4 separate regions of the Homo sapiens genome follow, and regions 1, 3 and 4 are each linked to region 2. Evidence: promoter capture Hi-C in human tissues and cell types (Jung and others, 2019). All regions are on one chromosome and are shown on one strand. Each heading gives the region's core, a stretch centred on a gene start or on the middle of the fragment in contact. The rest is flanking DNA. Distances are from core to core; before and after follow the strand shown.

Evidence for each region. The method cuts DNA at HindIII sites, captures the fragments that hold promoters and counts their contacts. A contact is called where the count stands out against the background at its distance.
Region 1: a contact is called between a fragment that was not itself captured here and the fragment with the promoter of CLTB in region 2, in 1 of the 25 tissues and cell types used here (spleen).
Region 3: a fragment that was not itself captured here is called in contact with the fragment with the promoter of CLTB in region 2 in 1 of the 25 tissues and cell types used here (liver).
Region 4: a fragment that was not itself captured here is called in contact with the fragment with the promoter of CLTB in region 2 in 1 of the 25 tissues and cell types used here (dorsolateral prefrontal cortex).

The regions. Positions count from the first base shown.
Region 1 is chr5:176,593,816-176,598,009 of GRCh38, reverse strand. CDHR2 (cadherin related family member 2) reads right to left here. Exons shown (of 32, transcript NM_017675.6): 32 at 2,186-2,478. The coding sequence ends at 2,338. GPRIN1 (G protein regulated inducer of neurite outgrowth 1) reads left to right here. Exons shown (of 2, transcript NM_052899.3): 2 at 1-2,208. The coding sequence ends at 1,202. Among named protein-coding and RNA genes, the nearest start is that of GPRIN1, 14 kb to the left of the region's middle. RefSeq lists silencers at 746-835, 976-1,135. The HindIII fragment of the contact is 5,900 bases long and covers 1-4,194 here.
Region 2 is chr5:176,413,689-176,417,842 of GRCh38, reverse strand. It overlaps CLTB (clathrin light chain B), which reads left to right and starts at 1,304. Exons shown (of 6, transcript NM_007097.5): 1 at 1,304-1,666. The coding sequence starts at 1,480. It also overlaps a transcript of ARL10 not described here. RefSeq lists silencers at 1,012-1,471, 1,512-1,611, 1,722-1,801. The HindIII fragment of the contact is 14,544 bases long and covers 1-4,154 here.
Region 3 is chr5:176,638,884-176,642,973 of GRCh38, reverse strand. EIF4E1B (eukaryotic translation initiation factor 4E family member 1B) reads right to left here. Exons shown (of 9, transcript NM_001099408.2): 2 at 809-931; 3 at 172-264. The coding sequence starts at 186. Among named protein-coding and RNA genes, the nearest start is that of TSPAN17, 6.6 kb to the left of the region's middle. The HindIII fragment of the contact is 5,153 bases long and covers 1-3,826 here.
Region 4 is chr5:176,618,747-176,623,029 of GRCh38, reverse strand. It overlaps SNCB (synuclein beta), which reads left to right. Exons shown (of 6, transcript NM_003085.5): 5 at 1,727-1,816; 6 at 2,187-2,948. The coding sequence ends at 2,219. Among named protein-coding and RNA genes, the nearest start is that of MIR4281, 8.6 kb to the left of the region's middle. RefSeq lists a silencer at 3,569-3,838. The HindIII fragment of the contact is 5,194 bases long and covers 1-4,179 here.

The DNA.
Region 1 (4,194 bases), core at 9-2,508, 180 kb before region 2:
TGCCTCTAGAGAAGGGGAGTCCTGTTACCACCACAAAGGCGGATCCCAGGGCCTCGGGGAAAGCACAGCCGCAGTCTGGTGGCAAAGCAGAAACAAAGCTCCCTGGGCAAGAGGGCGCTGCAGCACCAGGGGAAGCAGGGGCTGTGTGTTTGAAAAAGGAGACACCACAGGCCTCAGAGAAGGTGGATCCTGGATCCTGCAGAAAAGCAGAGCCCCTTGCCTCAGGGAAGGGAGAGCCTGTGTCCCTGGGGAAAGCCGACTCTGCACCTTCCAGAAAAACGGAGTCCCCATCCTTGGGGAAGGTGGTCCCCCTGAGTCTGGAGAAGACCAAGCCGTCCTCCTCCTCCAGGCAGTTAGACCGCAAAGCCCTCGGCTCAGCCCGGTCTCCCGAGGGTGCCAGGGGCAGTGAAGGCCGCGTGGAGCCGAAGGCCGAGCCCGTGTCCAGCACCGAGGCCTCCAGTCTCGGCCAGAAAGACCTGGAAGCCGCTGGGGCCGAGAGAAGCCCCTGCCCAGAGGCCGCAGCGCCCCCGCCGGGGCCGCGGACTCGCGACAACTTCACCAAGGCGCCGTCGTGGGAGGCGAGCGCCCCGCCGCCGCCGCGCGAGGACGCGGGCACTCAGGCGGGCGCGCAGGCCTGCGTCTCAGTGGCCGTGAGCCCCATGTCTCCGCAGGACGGCGCTGGGGGCTCGGCCTTCAGCTTCCAGGCGGCGCCGCGCGCGCCCAGCCCGCCCTCGCGCCGAGATGCGGGCCTGCAGGTGTCGCTGGGCGCCGCCGAGACGCGCTCCGTGGCCACTGGGCCCATGACACCTCAAGCCGCCGCGCCGCCCGCCTTCCCCGAAGTGCGGGTGCGGCCCGGCTCAGCGCTGGCGGCCGCTGTAGCGCCCCCGGAGCCGGCTGAGCCCGTGCGAGACGTGAGCTGGGACGAGAAGGGCATGACGTGGGAGGTATACGGCGCCGCCATGGAGGTGGAGGTGCTGGGCATGGCCATCCAGAAGCATCTGGAGCGACAGATCGAGGAGCACGGCCGCCAAGGGGCGCCCGCGCCGCCGCCCGCCGCCCGTGCCGGCCCCGGCCGTTCGGGCTCGGTGCGCACCGCGCCCCCAGATGGCGCCGCCAAGCGTCCGCCCGGCCTGTTCCGCGCGCTGCTGCAGAGTGTGCGCCGGCCGCGGTGCTGCTCGCGGGCGGGACCCACGGCCGAGTGATCTGCCCCCATTTTGTACGCCCGAGTTTCCGACCTTCTCAGGCTCCCTTCTTGATCACAGGCCCCTAGAAGGGGTCCCCTCTGCGTGCCACAGGCCTCCGAGGGGTTGTGCAGCCTCTAGGGCTGTTGCGTCCCCGTCTTTCCAGCCCCTCCCATCACAAATACAGAAGAACCCCTTCTACCAAGCTCCCTCGTGGCCACGAGGCCACGAACCCGGCCAGCCCTGACGCCCCACTGTCCCCTCACAGCCCTCAGCTCTACTCCCGGTCACACTGGGCGACCACGGGGGCCTGCTCAGCACCCTCACCTCCCACCCCCTGAGAGCTGGGGCAGGCTCCTGAGATGTCTAGACTGGTGCGTTGTGGTCTCCGGTGGGGCCAGATCCCCAGAACAGGGAGAGACTGCATACAAGTCTGAGTGGCAGAAGCTTCAAGTGGGTGAGGATCGGTGTGTGAGACCCGCGAGTGGGCACGTCTCTGAATGTGAGGTCTCGGGCAGCACGTGAGGTAGAACGAGTGTGAGCGTCTCCACGCAGTGGCTGGCCCCGTGGCCGGGGCGTCTCTTGCATGCTGTTGGTGGTCCTTCCCCAGTTCCTATCTCCCACCCGCCTGGTTCCAGCCCCATCCCCTCTCCCACTGAGTCACAGGTTTGAGATTCCCAGAGAGGCCAAAGACAGCTACAGGAAGTACCCTGGGGGCTCAGCTGAGAGAGAGTCACAGAAAGGCCAGAGGGTCTCAGGAAGGTCTGGAGGTCACAGCTGGGCTCACAGAAGCTCTTGGGCCCTGGCATCCTGGGTGACCGGTGTTCTTGGGTATTGGGGACAGGACAGAGAGCTCATTCTATAACCACAGTTGTCTTTTAAAGGCCACCCTCTCCAGCCCCTTGTCCCCCCTGTGCTGTGAGCCCAAGTCCCTTGTGACCACTCAGTGTCCCGTCCCCACCCCTCCAGCCGCAGTTTTTGGCTACAAACTGTCACAGTATACATTGGTAATAAAATATTTCCCCAACCCCTGTCTGCCGTGATTGGCCAAAAGCAGGAGGCAGGGCAGCGTCATATATTTTCATCTCCAGGGAGACAGGTGCAGTTAGGGTGTGGTAGGGCCTCTTCAAGGGGTCCAGAAGAGTGGGGGCCCCTGTCACAGGTCCGTGGTGTCCAGGCCAGCGTTGGTGTAGGATGGCCCCTCCAGCTGTCCACTTGCGCCTGCCTGCCGTCCTAACAGGACCACGCTCAGGGGCTCTGGATCTGGCTCTGGTGGTGTGTGTGGTGGCCTGTGCTCCTGCAGGGAGAGGGAGAGGAGGTGTGAAGGGCAAGGCAAGGTGGGGCGAGTGCCCCAGGCCCTAGGGGAGTGGATGGGCTTCAAGCTCACGACCAGTGGTTCCTTGGCAGGGGTCCCACCCTGCCCCTCCTGGGGCCTCTGGTCCAGGCTGTGTCCCAGAGGTGGCCCTGGCTAATGGTGATGCAGATTAGGGGAGGGGGAGGGTGTGGCCTGGGGGATTCACTCTTGCCTTTGCCCTGCCCACCAACACTGCGGCACTCTGCCGTTCAGCCCAGTTCCAAATAATGCCAGGCCCTGTGTCCTGTGCCGAGGAGCCAGCCCAGCGCAGTTCCTGCCCCCTGTACCCCACGGCAGGCACCGTGTGGGTTGAGGTCCATCCATTACCTCAACTACCCACTGAAACCCTCTGAGGGAGGGAACATGTCCTCTCTTCACAGATGTGGAAACTGAGGCTTAGAGAGGTCTACTGGTGAAGAGGGGCAGACCACTGGTCTTGCTGGTTCAAAAGCGTGTCCATGATGTGACACTGCCCTGGTTGAATTTGACGTCTCTTTTTGCTGCCCTCAGAGGGACGCTGCCCACAGGCTGGTCCCACCTGCAGTTTATCATGGCACACACTCACTCATCTCTCCCGCCCTTCCTCTTCCACCTCGCCATGCGACATGCTGTGTGCGTGCACACACACACACACCCTCCTGTGGAACAGCCAGGCCCCCAAGCTCAGCTGCTCTGCTACAGAGACACCCACAGGGCCAGAGCCCCGGCCACCACCGCCCTCCCCAGGGCACTCCAAGGGCTTTTTCCAGACTGGGGCTGTTCTGGTCCCTAGTAAACAGTGGAACATCCGAGGGGCCCCAGAGGGGCTAAGCATTCTGCCTGTGTTCCTCAGAGCCCTCAAGACAGACCCCAAGTGGAGAGCTGCAGGCTCAGTGCCACCCACGATAACATGACCTGGTGCCAGAGACCAAAGACCTGGGTTCTGGTCTGCCCCTGCCCTGCAAGCTGTCCCACTTTGAGCAAGTCAGCACCCCTCTCTGGATGTGAATTTCCTTGCTGGTTACTTGGGGAGGTTAGAGTGATAATCTCTCCAGCCACTCACACCTACCACACAGACGTGTGGAGCTTAGACAAGTCAGGGCACCAAGAGATTCCTGGGAAAAGGATCCACCTGCGCCACCCCAGCCATGGGAGAGCAGGGGGCAGACAGCTCCCAAAAAGGCCCCATGCCTCGTGGACCTGCCCAGAGACCCGCAAGACTCACTGCTGCAGGAGACAGGGTGGAGCCTTGGGCAGCTTCTCAGAAATATAGCAACCCCCTGCCCTCCCAGGACATAATCTGAGCAATTTTCTGGCTTTGAAGACTTTCCGTGACTTGTCCCCACACCCTCTCCAGACCCTTCTCCTACTTCCCTGCCCCTTCCCAGTCCACAGATCCAGCCACACCTCAGGGGGTCCTTAACTCCACTCCCTTGGGTTAGGAGCAGCATCAGCCTCTGCCACAGGCCATGCACTCCAGTAGACAAGACTGTTCCTTCGCCTCAGTTCCCCAGACATGTTCATTAGAGTTTTGGCCACTAACCATCTCCTAGCATCTACCCAGAGGCCTCCAGCGCTGCCTGGCTGCCTGCATTACCACCCACACAACCATACCTGGGGCCTGTCCGGAGGCCTCTGTGCCAGATTCCCTGTACCGTGTTATACCTGGGCCCCTGTGCG
Region 2 (4,154 bases), core at 55-2,554:
AGAGTAAGATCCTGTCTCAAAACAAAAAACAAACAAACAACAACAACAAAACCATGCAAATGGACAGCAATAAATAAATACATTAATTTAATTAAATAAAACAATAAAAACCCCCCCAAAAACAGTAACATCAAAAGGTGCTCAAGTTGTTACCAATTAAACTGAAAGTTCCAGCTGGGCTTGGTAGCTCACACATGTAATCCCAGTGTTTTGGGAGACCAAGGCAGGAGGATCCCCTGAGGCCAGCAGTTCAAGACCAGCCCAGTTAATATAGCGAGGCCCTGTCTCTAAATAAAAAAATTAAAAAGAAAAAAAAAAAAACACCTGGAAGGTCCCTTCACCCCAACTCCACTTCCACCCCCAACTTGGCGGCACATCTTTCCTTTCGCTCTTCCAGTCCATATTTCATAGTTGCCTTTCAAGTCCCACATTAGAAATAGCAGACAGCCCAAATCCCATGGTGTTTCTTTGCATCGTCTCCCTATACCCCGTGTTTAAATGTCACAGCGCCTCACACACAGTGCTTTGACAGGCCATTTGCCATCTGTTGGTCTCACCGGATTGTAATCTCCGCATGGCCATGGCTGGATTTTATAAAACGTTGCTGTCCTGGTGCTTGGCAAAGCGCAGGCAGGGAGGAGGCATTCAGAGCCTGTTCACAGAGGGCAGCGGGCAGCGTGGAGAGTGGTAGGCTGCCTGGGTAAACCAGGTCTGCCTTTCTCAGGCTGGTTCATACCTAAAGGACATTTAAGGGGCCTAGCTGGCCATCCAAACTCTGGTCGTATGAACTGAAGCCTCCTCAAGGGAGATACACAAAAAAATACACAAAACAACACGGCCTAGTGGGAAAGGACCTGGACTTGCATGAAAAGGTGCGGGGCAGCCTTTCCCAGCCTCAATTTTCCTCTTCTTACAGAGGCGGAGGCTCATAGAATGAGGTGCATGACATCCCAACCTAGGAGAAGAAACTTCTGCAGAATGAATCAGGAGCCAGGTCTGCGCTCCCGAGGCCAGAGGTGGCCTCCTGTCGCAGCTCTGTGCACGGTACGGCCACTCTGTGCCCTGCGTTTCGCCTCCAGGCCGGGCGGGAGCAGTGCCTAGCCCAGGTGTCCTCGACGCGAGCAGCTGGGCGCCGCTGCGGAGGGAGGGAAGCGCCGCGCCGGTCCCGGGCCCAGCGCTGCGCCCAGTCCTGAGGCGCCCTCCTGCGGCCGCTGCTCGGCGACCTCCCGGCCCTGCGGCCCCGCCCCCGCGGTGACGTCACCGCATTCCGGCTCCGCTCCTCCCGCCGCGGCGCCCGCACCGCAGTGACAGCCAGCCGGGCCCGGTGGCGGAGAGGAAGTGCGGTCCGCGCCAAGCCCGTCCCCGCCGACGCCGGCTCCCCCGCGGCTCGGGTGACAGCGTCGCGGCCGCCGGACGCAGCGCGGGGCAGGCGCGGGCAGAGCCGAGCGCAGCGGAGGCTCCGGCGGAGGCGCGGGGAAAATGGCTGATGACTTTGGCTTCTTCTCGTCGTCGGAGAGCGGTGCCCCGGAGGCGGCGGAGGAGGACCCGGCGGCCGCCTTCCTGGCCCAGCAGGAGAGCGAGATTGCAGGCATAGAGAACGACGAGGGCTTCGGGGCACCTGCCGGCAGCCATGCGGCCCCCGCGCAGCCGGGCCCCACGAGTGGGGGTGAGTCAGCGCGGGGCCTGGAGAGGGGCTCAGGGCGCGCACCCGGGGGACCCCGGCCGGGGCCCAGGGGCACAGGGAAGAGAGCCTGCTCTAGGCCACCCGGGGCAGGAGCTGGGAGACGTGGGGAAGAATCTTCTTGGAGATCTCCATGTAGGACTTCCGAGCTGGGGATGAGGCCTCGCCTGGGGCTGTGGATCTGGTGACTCCCGGGACAGGAATTCGGTCATGACATTTCATCCCCAGGCCAGCTTCCCCACTGCCCGGCTCTGGAATCCAACCCCACCTCAGTTTTGAGAGTCCCTCCTGAGCCTCCTAATAGCCTGGGTGTCCCAGGCTCCCAGCTAAGTGTGCAGGTGTGGGCAGAACACAGCCCTCCTGGCCCCTCAGGCTTAGCTCTCTCCTGCAGCTGGGAAAAAAGAGGATCCTGGGTGCTCCAGGAACTCACTAACCTTCCCCGGTGACCGCCTGGCATTCGGCAGTCGCTGGGCTAAGCGCCTTGGTTACATTTAATCACTTCATACACGTGATTGAACCCATTTCAGAGATGGTAAAACTGAGGCTCAAGGGAGTATGCTATTGAAATAACTAGTAAGTGGCAGATCAAGAATTTAAACCTGTTTCTTTTTCTTTTACATATATATTTTTTCTTTTCCTTTTTTTGAGATGGGGTCTCGCTATGTTGCCCAGACTGGTCTTGAGCTCCTGGGCTCAAGCAATCCTCCCACCTCTGCCTCCTAAAGTGTTGGGATTACAGGTGTGAGTCACCACACCTGGCCGTGAATTTAAACCTGTTCCTGTCGGACTTGAAGCCCTCTCCACCTGACCACACTGCCTACCAAGTGTCTGGCTCTGAGTTAGACACCGGAGTGTGGGCCACAAAGAGGCATCAGTCAGATGCGGTAGGGCCCTTCAGGGTTTTGTAGTTGTCGACTTAATGGTTTTCCAAAGGTGGTCCGGGGCTATTATGATTTACTGTGATTGGCTTCAGACCTCAGTGTTCAGGGCCTAGTCCCTGTGAAATCATCTTTATCAATGATGTTTCTGCCCTGGTTCTGGCTAGCAAGAATGATTTTGTAAAATATTTAGTAAAAAAGTAGATATCACCTTCATGGGTACATCCAAAACAGGTTTTACTTCCTGTTGATGTCATTTTGGAAAGGTTTATGGGCCTGTTGTAGTAAGTGCTAACATATATACATATAGACATATTTTGGTTAATGATGTTTACAAGGCTCTTCACAGTCATGTTTGTATCCATTCAACGTTTACTGAGCACCTACTGTGTGTCAGGACGCTGGGGATACAGAAATGAATAAGACAGTTCCTGTGGCTGAGGAGTTTGAAGCAACTCTGTATCTCCTTGATATGAGAAATGTAACCAGGCTTTTGTAACATGCAAGAAACCGGTGGCCCAGAGAATCTGAGTATCTTGCCCAGAGTCACACAGCCAGGAATGACCAATCTAGGACTTGATCCCACGCCTCCCAACTCTGGGCTCCATGCTCTTTCAAATGCTGTGGAGCCTGGGCAACATGGTGAAACCCCATCTCTACAAAACATACAAAAATTAGCCAGGCATGGTGGCATGTAGCTGTAGTTGTAGTTCCAGCTGCTCGGGAAGGCTGAGGCAGGAGCATAGCTTGAGCCCGGGAGGTGTAGGTAGGTCGCCGTGTGCTGTGATCACGTCTCTGTACTCCAGCCTGGGCAGCAGAGTGAGACCCTGTCTCAAAAAAAAAAAAAAAAAGATTCTATAGCAGTCACCTCCCTGGCAGGAGATAGGATGTGGGGTGAGAAGCATGGGGTCTTTTGCCACCTATCTGAGACAGCAATGGAGGGCTTCTGAAGTGGAAGCTTCCAGCACCTCAATACAGAATCTGCCGTGTCCCAGGGAATTCCTAAGAAATGCCTGCCCCAGTTAATGCACCAGTATTCACTGGACCACACCTCTGTGAGACCACCCTTTTCCTCAGTCTGGCTCACTGGGGCCTGTTGGGGTCGGGGTGCAGGGAAGAGGAGGGAGGCCTTGTGGGGAGGTCCTGCTGAGGGGAGCCATTGTGAGAACCTCAGGAGAGAAAAGATGGGATTCAGGCTGAGGGCAGCCAGATGCCTGAGGGAGCTGAGCAGGTTGTGGCCTCTCCCAGGATGGTGGGGCTCCAGGGACTTACAGTCTGGATGGCAAGTTCTGTCCTTGGCAGGGGTGGGGCACAAATTGGCCTCAGACCAGAGGTGACAGGGAGAGAAACAATGACACGCTCGCTTCTTCCAGGGAGGTGCCGGGGATACAGCCTTCTGAGGGTCTCCCAGGCGCATACCTGCTGACTCTGCAAAGGCTCAGCTGCCCTCCTTAGTTGGATCGGGGAGCAGGGAGGTGTTGAGGGATGGCGGCTCAGTGGATGGCCAGATGGGCTAGAATTGATCTGACCTTCTCAGCCTATGCAGTGCTGAACAGGTAATCTTCCCCTGACCAGGGATGTGTGCCAGGAGCCTG
Region 3 (4,090 bases), core at 1-2,500, 230 kb before region 2:
GGCCTTCAGTAGCCATGCCCAGCTCAAACTCCATGGAGGACCCAGCATCTGAAAAGCCCCCAGCTACCAGCTTTTAACCCACCAGCACCTGCCCCGCCCACCTGGGGCGGGGGGGGGGGGGGAGAGGGCGGGGCCATGGTGCACTGGGGGTAGAGAGGCCAGGCTGATTACCTCAACAGCAAGCATTTAGTGAGTGCCTTCTTCGTGCAGGCCTGGGGCTGGGGAAGCAGCTGTGACCAAGCCCCACACCATGGGGGCCAAGACCTGAAGGTAAGCGTCAATATTTGGAGCCTGCTCGAAGGGAAAGCAAGGTCTGCATCCCGTGGAGGGTGACCCCAGAATGTGAGGTGGACGGCCCTGCCGATGGCAGAAGCAGAGACACTGACATGGCCGTGGGGCCTTCTGGCACCATCCCCAACCTCACATCAGAGCAGGTATTCATCTGGTCTCTGGAAGCACCTGAGTTTTTTTGTTTGTTTGTTTTTAAATAAAATATTCTTTTGACTAGAGATGAAGGAATCTCACTATGTTGCCCAGGCAACTCCTGGGCTCAAGTGATCTCCCATTTCAGCCTCCCAAAGTGCTGGGATTACTGGCATGAGCCACCATACCCAGTGGCATCTGAGTTTTTTAAAAGTTTAATCATCTGCCAACATTTAGACATAGGGGGGTTTTATACTAAGATTCACACTTTTGGTTTCTCTTGAGGATTTGGAAAGTTCCTCCCCGACTCACTGCCTCACAGGCCCCCAGTCCCTTTGGAGACACATGAGGCTCCCCACAGCCCCCACCTTACCTCCTGCCCCACCTGAGTGTTCTCTGCCTGACCTGGATGGTGAGGGTCAGGGCTGCAGCCACACAGCCTGGGTTCTAGTCCTGATTCTACCCTGACCGCGGCCAGGCCTGAGCTTCATCGAGTCAGTTTCCCCATCTGTAAAATGAAAATGTTAATCATACACAACTCAGAAGCTTGTTGAGGGTATTAAATGATATAGAACACATAGAACCCGTAGAACAAGGCCTGGCTTGTGCTCAACAGAAGTCAGCTGAGGGTTCTCCCAGGTTGGGGAGGGTGGGGACTGGGATGGGGAAGGAAGGCAGGGAAGCTTTGGACACCCTTTATCGGCCTTCTGAACAACCCCTTTTCTGTGGAGGCTGAAGGCTCCCCAAGTCCTTTAAAGTTTTGCCTCCTCCCCTTGGGCACTTTTAGGGTCCCAGACGTATAAAAGGCCCTGCTCCTCCCCCACACTTGGGGGGCTCGTGACCATCTGGAGGCTGAGTATTTGCTCAACCCACAGCCTTAAGCCCTGGTACGTGCTAGGCACAGGGTTAGGTGCTGCTACGGTGATGAGCGAAAAACAAGCGGGCCCTGTGCTCAGGTTTATGAGATTATGCATCCCTCAGACAATCTGTGTCGTCACAAACACAACCCACTGAAGGAAAGGGATTCGGGGATGGGAGAACCTAAAAAGTCCACGATCCAAGCTGGGGCTTCAGAGCGGCAGTTCTTAGGTGCGTGTATCAGAATCACCTGCACGGCTTGCTCATCACACGCTGCTGGGCCCTGTCTCAGAACTTCTGACGCCTTAGTTCTGGGCTTGGGCTTGAGGATGTTTCCATTTTATTTATTTATTTATATTGTTTTCAGGCAAGGTCTCACTCCAGCTGCCCAGGCGGGAGTGCAGTGGTGCCATCTTGGCTCACTGCCGTCTTGACGTCTCAGCTCAGGTGATTCCCCCACCTCAGCCTCCCGAGTAGCTGGGACTACAGGCATGCACCACCACGCCCGGCTAGTTTTGTTTTGTTTTGTTTTATTTTGTAGAGGTAGGGTTTTGCCATGTTGCCCAGGCTGGTCTTGAATGTCTAGACTCAAGCAATCTGCCCACCTTGGCCTCCCAAGTGCTGGGATTACAGGCGTGACCCAAAGCGCCAGGCCCAGGATGTTTGTATTTCTAACAAGTTCCCAGATGCTGCTGGCCAGGGACCCCGTTTTAAGAACCACTGAGAAGAAGGTCACTGAGAGGTGGTATTTGAGCAAAGACCTAAAGCATAAACAAGAAATAATAGGAAATAATTAACTGGGTCGGGGAGGGCATCTCTGGGAGTGGGAACAGTATGTGCAAATGCCCTGGGGCAAAGGGAATGTGGAATACCAGAGGACGAGAAGACAGGCCAGTGTGGGCGAAGCTAAAAGGGGAAAGAAATGGGTAAGCCTGATCCTAGGGGCAGTGGGGAGCCACTGAGCATTTTGAGCATGTACAGACTGGCTGGGGAGGCAATCAGATATGCTTTTCAGCAGGTTCTCTGGATTGCTGTGTAGGAAACAGAACCCTGTGGCTGCAAGAAGGTGTGGGGAAACACTGACTAGGATGCTAATGTAGTCGTCCAGGTGACAGAGGGGGCGGCAGAGAAGATGGAGAGATGATAATAGACTCAAGGGGTATGTAGAAGGAAAACTCAGTGATATTTAGTGATAGATAGGCCCTGGAGGGGTGAAGCACTGTGTCCCACTTATCTATTGCTGCACAACAAACCACCCCAAACTCAGTGGCTTAAAACAATAATCATCATTTATTATGCTCACAAGCGTGCAATGTGGGTAGTGCTCAGTAGGACAGCCCAGCTCTCCTTCAAAGGGAGGTCAGCTAGGGTGGCTTACAGGTTGGGGCTGGAGTCATCTGCTCACTCACACGTGGGGCAGCTGATGCCAGCTGTCAGCTGGAGCCTCAGCTGGGGGTGCTGGCCAGGATGGCACTGCGTGGCCTCTCCATGTGGCTGCTTGGCTTCTTCCCGGCGTGGTGGCTGGGTTCCCAGAGCAAGCATCCCAAGAGACAGGAAGCAGAAGCTGCCAGTTTCTTAAGGCCTGGGCCTGAAACCTGGCACCACATCAGACCCACTCTATTCTACTAGAGTCACAGGCCCAGATTCAAGGGAGGGGACATACTGCCACCTCTCAGTGGGAGGAGCATTGAAGAAATTTGGACAGAGGGAGCACTGGAAGAGGACCAGGCTGGGAAGAGCTCACGAATCTAGATTTTGTTGTTGTTGTTTTGAGACAGTGTCTTGCTCTGTTGCCCAAGCTGGAGTGTAGTGGCATGACCATAGCTCACTGCAGCCTCAAACTCCTTGGCTCATTCTCCCTCCTCAGCCTCCCGAGAAACTGGGACTACAGGTGCACACCACCATGTCTGGCTAATTTTCAATTAAAAAAAAAATAGAGATGAGGTCTCAATATGTGGCCTAGACTGGTCTCAAATCAGCCTGGGAGGGTTCAAGTGATTCTCCTGCCTTTGCTTCCCAAAGTGTTGGGATTACGAGTGTGAGCCACTGTGCCGGCCAGGAATCTAGATCTGATGAAGAAAAAGGAAGGAAGGGCTCCCCCCAGTACCGGGCATGGTCTTAGCTACCTTACAGCTGTGGCCCAGAGCCCAGCTCGGAAGGACCCTCCCAGCCACAGCACCCCTTCCCACCACTTCCCACAGCTTCCAGCCTGGGGAAGCTCCTGGAGTCTTGGATTGAGGTGACTAAGGAGAGACCTTAAGAGCAACCCCCCTGGCGCTACAGGCATCCTGGCCCCTCGCTGAGGCCCTTCCAAGTCTGTCTATGGGGGACATCTTCATGCTGGGATTGAACCAGCAGGGGCTCTTAAATCCCAGCCCTACCATCCTGTTCCTAAAATATCTTGAATCTGCCCATTCCTCTCCCTCCCAACTCCCCTGACTCCAGAGAAGCTGGTTCTGACCTTGGCTGCTGTGTATTTCCTGACACTCCACTTGCTTCCACTCCTGCTTTCCTACAGAAAGTTCTCCAGGTTCCTCGGGGGGATCATTTAAAATATTAATCTGGTCACGTAACTTCTTTGTTTAAAACCCAGGCCAGCTGTGGTGGCTCATGCCTGTAATCCCAGCACTTTGGGAGGCCGAGGCCAGTGGATCACCTGAGGTCAGGAGTTCGAGAGTAGCCTGGCCAACATGGTAAAACCGTGTCTCTACTAAAAATAAAACAAACAAACAAACAACAACAGCAACAAAACTAGTTGGGCATGGTGGCAGGCACCTGTAATCCCAGCTACTTGGGAGGCTGAGGCAGG
Region 4 (4,283 bases), core at 333-2,832, 200 kb before region 2:
TGGGCACAGTGGCTCATGCCTGTAATCCCAGGCATGAGGCCGAGGTGGGCAGATCACCTGAGGTCAGGAGTTTGAGAACAGCCTGACCAACATGGCGAAACCCCATCTCTACTAAAAATACAAAAATTAGCCAGATGCAGTGGCACATGCCTGTAATCCCAGCTACTTGGGAAGCTGAGGCAGGAGAATCGCTGGAACCCAGGAGGCTGAGGTTGCGGTGAGCCGAGATCACACCACTGCGCACCAGCCTGGGCCACAGAGTGAGACTGTCTCAAAAAAAAAAAAAAAAAAAAAAAAGTCATCATGAAGGCCATGCTCTTCTGTTCTGTATCTGGCTTCCTCCATTCATCAGGAAGCTTGTGAGACTCAGCCCTGCTCTTGTATGCATTGTTGTTCTTCATTCTTGTTATGTAGTATTCCATTGTGTCGTTAGGTCACAAGGCACACATCCATTCTACTGATGTTGGACATTTGGGTTGTTTCCAAACAATGTGCTCAAGCTGGCTTGTTTTGTTTTGTTTTGTTTTGTTTTGTTTTGTTGAGATGGAGTCTCACTCTGTTACCTAGGCTGGAGTGCAGTGGCGTGATCTTGGCTCACTGCAAACTCCGCCTCCCGGGTTCAAGCGATTCTCCTGCCTCAGCCTCCCAAGTAGCTGGGACTAGAGGCACGCACCACAGTGCCCAGCTATCAAGCTGGCATTTTTAGCACTACATTCCATCCCTGGGTTCTGGTCATAGCTGGGTGACTTGGGGGCAAACTAACATTTCCCCACCTCCTGGGCCTTGGCATACGCATCTGTGCAGTGGGGAAATGAGCCAGGTCAGGAGCTGGAAACTCATGTGCCCACAGGGCCCACTTAGACAGGTAATGTGAAGGAGCTGACGCTGCCTGGATGGAGCTGGGACACCCAGGGTGCAGACGTGGTCAGGGCAGGCTTTCCCCAGCACCAATGCTCCGGGATCCCAGGCGTGTGCCAGCCCCACATGAGGCACTGCACAGGCTGTGCATGGATCCTAAGCTATCGCGTGTGCTTGTGTGTGCAGCCAGCTCAGTCCCATGTTTGTTCACATACATGTGGTCACCTGCAGGTGGCTGGCCATGTGTCTGGCAGCCCGCCCACATGCATGCCCGCTGGTCTGCGCCTGTCTGGGCAGCAGACGCAGCGGGTGGGGGGGAGAGTCTTAGCTCACACATCCAAGCAACACCACGAGCTGTGGCTTCCAGCTTATCTTAAAATAGCAACAGCTGAAGAAACGAGGCCACACAGGGCCCGGGGGAGGGATGAGTGGAAGGTGGCGGGGGAATGGCTCAGAGCCCCTGCCCAGCCCTGTCCCTGAGCCTCCAGCTCCCTTCAGCCCAGGGGAGCCTGAGGGTTATCTCTGGGGTCCCGATGCCCAGCACAGAGCCTGACACAAAGGATGAGGCATAAGCTGGTGACTGAGTATCCAAATGGTGGAAGTGTGGAGGCTGCCAGGCATTGGGGGAGCGGCGTGGAGAGCCAGCTCCCACTCCATGCTGCCACTTCAACTGTGATTCGGGGGAATTTCCCCCTTCACCTCCATCCCACTTCCAAGGCACTCCAAATAAATAACTGAATTAGAAATTATCCTTGCTCTGCCAACCCACCCTAGCCTTCCCCACTCCAACCCACCCAAAGCTTACCACTGTGGGAATTTGGGGGGCATCCTGGCTGTCCTCACGAGTCCTGACCTTTTCTGCCCACAGCCAGAGGAAGTGGCCCAGGAAGCTGCTGAAGAACCACTGATTGAGCCCCTGATGGAGCCAGAAGGGGAGAGTTATGAGGACCCACCCCAGGTGAGGGGGCAGCAGGGCTGGGCGGGACTTTGGGAATCCAGGATGATTGCTGCCGTCCCTAGCTGGGGTGGGACATCCCTGGCATGAGATGGTTGGGCCAGGGAGCTTGACATCCCTCTTCTAGAACCCAGGCCCCAGGAGGTGGGAGCAGGGAGGAGAGGGCAGATAGGGTCTAGCGCTGGGCCCCAGGCACACCTGCCCAAGAATTCTCTGTTGTCCCCAACTTCCAGGCTCCTCCCCTGCCCAGGAAAAGGGGAATGTGCTATTCCTCCTTCAGGGAGAGGGTTCTTGGGCCGGGGCTTGGCCACTTGGTCTCAAACTCCTCCTCCTTTTTGCTCTTCTCTACTCCACCCCCATCCCGGTGATGCAGGAGGAATATCAGGAGTATGAGCCAGAGGCGTAGGGGCCCAGGAGAGCCCCCACCAGCAGCACAATTCTGTCCCTGTCCCTGCCCCGCCCCCCAGAGCCAGGGCTGTCCTTAGACTCCTTCTCCCCAATCACGAGATCTTCCTTCCGCTCTGAGGCAACCCCCTCGGAGCCTGTGTTAGTGTCTGTCCATCTGTCTGTCCTACCCGCCCGCGTCCAACCCCGGGGCATGGACAGGGCCAGGGTTGCGGTCGCGGCTGGGAGCCTCGCCCCTCCAGTGTTGCCTCCTCCCATCCAGCGTCTGCGCGGATGTAGCATGTTCTATGTGTTTTTAAACGAAGATCCGAGCGACGGCTCCTCCCCGATCCCCGACAGTGGCTCTCCAAGCGGCCCCCGGGCAGCCCCAGAGCACCCCGCCCGACTCCCATTAACCTCGAGAACCTTTTTTTTTTTAACCAAAACCAGGAGCCAGGCTGTGCCATGTCCCCCGCCCCCCATCCCAGCCGGCCCGGTCCGAACGCGGGCGTCGTGTGTTGTGATTGTGGCATGGAGAGTCCCCATCCCCCCCATGTGAGCGTGTCCCGGGCGGGTGGGCCCGGCCGCCCCCGAGAGTCCATGAATAAAGCTAATCTGTCTGTAGCCAGAGCCGCACCGGCAGGGCTGGGCTGGGCGCCGGGTGGGGGCGACACGTGGCGGCGAGTCTTCCAGGTCCCAGCCTACCCCTCTGTGCTCTTTGGGGTCTGGCACACACAGCCCAGGTACAAGACTGGCCACCTCTGGCTTCGCGTCTCCATCTCCCACTCTGTCCCCCGGAAGGCAGGTCGGGGAGGGTGCCCCCGGGGCTGGGACACGCAGTTGGCTGGGAGGCGGGAAGGTGGCCTCGGGCGCCTCCTGCTAGTCCCTAAAGTGCCAGCTGGGAGTGCAGGATCTAGGGAAGCCCCATGCCGCCGCAGCGTTGGGGCGGAAGGGCTCACAACTGGCCGCACAGGTAGCGCAGGCGCGCCGATGCCCACTCACGTGCGGACCCGCGTGCCTGTCCGTGGGTCCATATGCGCGAACCCGAGTGTGCGCACTCTGGCCGCGCGAGCGTGCATGCACGCTGGCCAACACGTGCATCCCATTCGAGCGCTGAAAGACCTCTCCCACTCCAGAACGTGGACACGCACAAAGCCCCGCGCGCACCTGCCCAAAGCAGAAAAACTTGTCTAAGGGGAAGGGAAATGGGCAACTGCCCCTGCAGCCAGCAGAGCCCTGGCCTCCGGTGCTCCACCCTCCCACCCCCACGAAGGCGCCGGAATGTTTGAGGCCGAAAGTTTGAGGTGGGCGAGGGCCCGCAGAGGTCTGGGATGCCGCCCGGGAGCCTTGAGCGGATCAGGATCAGCACTAGGGGGCCCCCAACACCGCCTCAGAGTGAGAAAGATGGGGGCGGAGATACTGCTGGCTCCGCGCAGAGGCACCGCCCCCCATGCGCTGCCTTTATTGGCATAGGCAGTCCCTGCGCGAGGCCCCGCCCCTGCCCTCTTGCCGCAGAGGCCCTCTCTCCGCGCTTGCACCGAGGCCCCGCCCCGTCCCGCAGAGGCCCCGCCCCCACCCGGACTGGCTCTTGGCGTGGCTATGCCGCAGAGGCCCCCAAACTCGCCTGCGCAAGACCCTGCCCTATTCTAAACCTCAGTGCGACCTCAATTCGTGCCGCAAGCCTGCCTCGCCCTCCAGCCTCTAGCTGGAAGAAGGTTGCTCTATTCAGTTAGCCCCCGAGTGTTAGCGCCTCCTCTTTCCCTGAGTTGTTGGGGGCAAGAAGTGGTGCCAAGCCGGGAAGAAGGCCTTGAACGCTGCGGGAGACCGTTCTGCTCAGGTCACCTTGGCCCGCAGGGTAGGGACCTTTATTTCCGGAAGTAGGAGGCAGCTGGCAGACGTGAGGCGGGTGGGGTGGCGGGGGGGAACAAACCGGTGGGCTTGGATTCTCTGAGTCACTTACGTGAGGATGCCAGGAGCTCCAGATCCCTTTTGGTTGAATTAAGATGCTACTCACAACCCACAATCCGTGGAGATTGCAAACTCGTGGCCCTCAGGCTGAATTTGGCCTGTAGATATGTTTGATTTG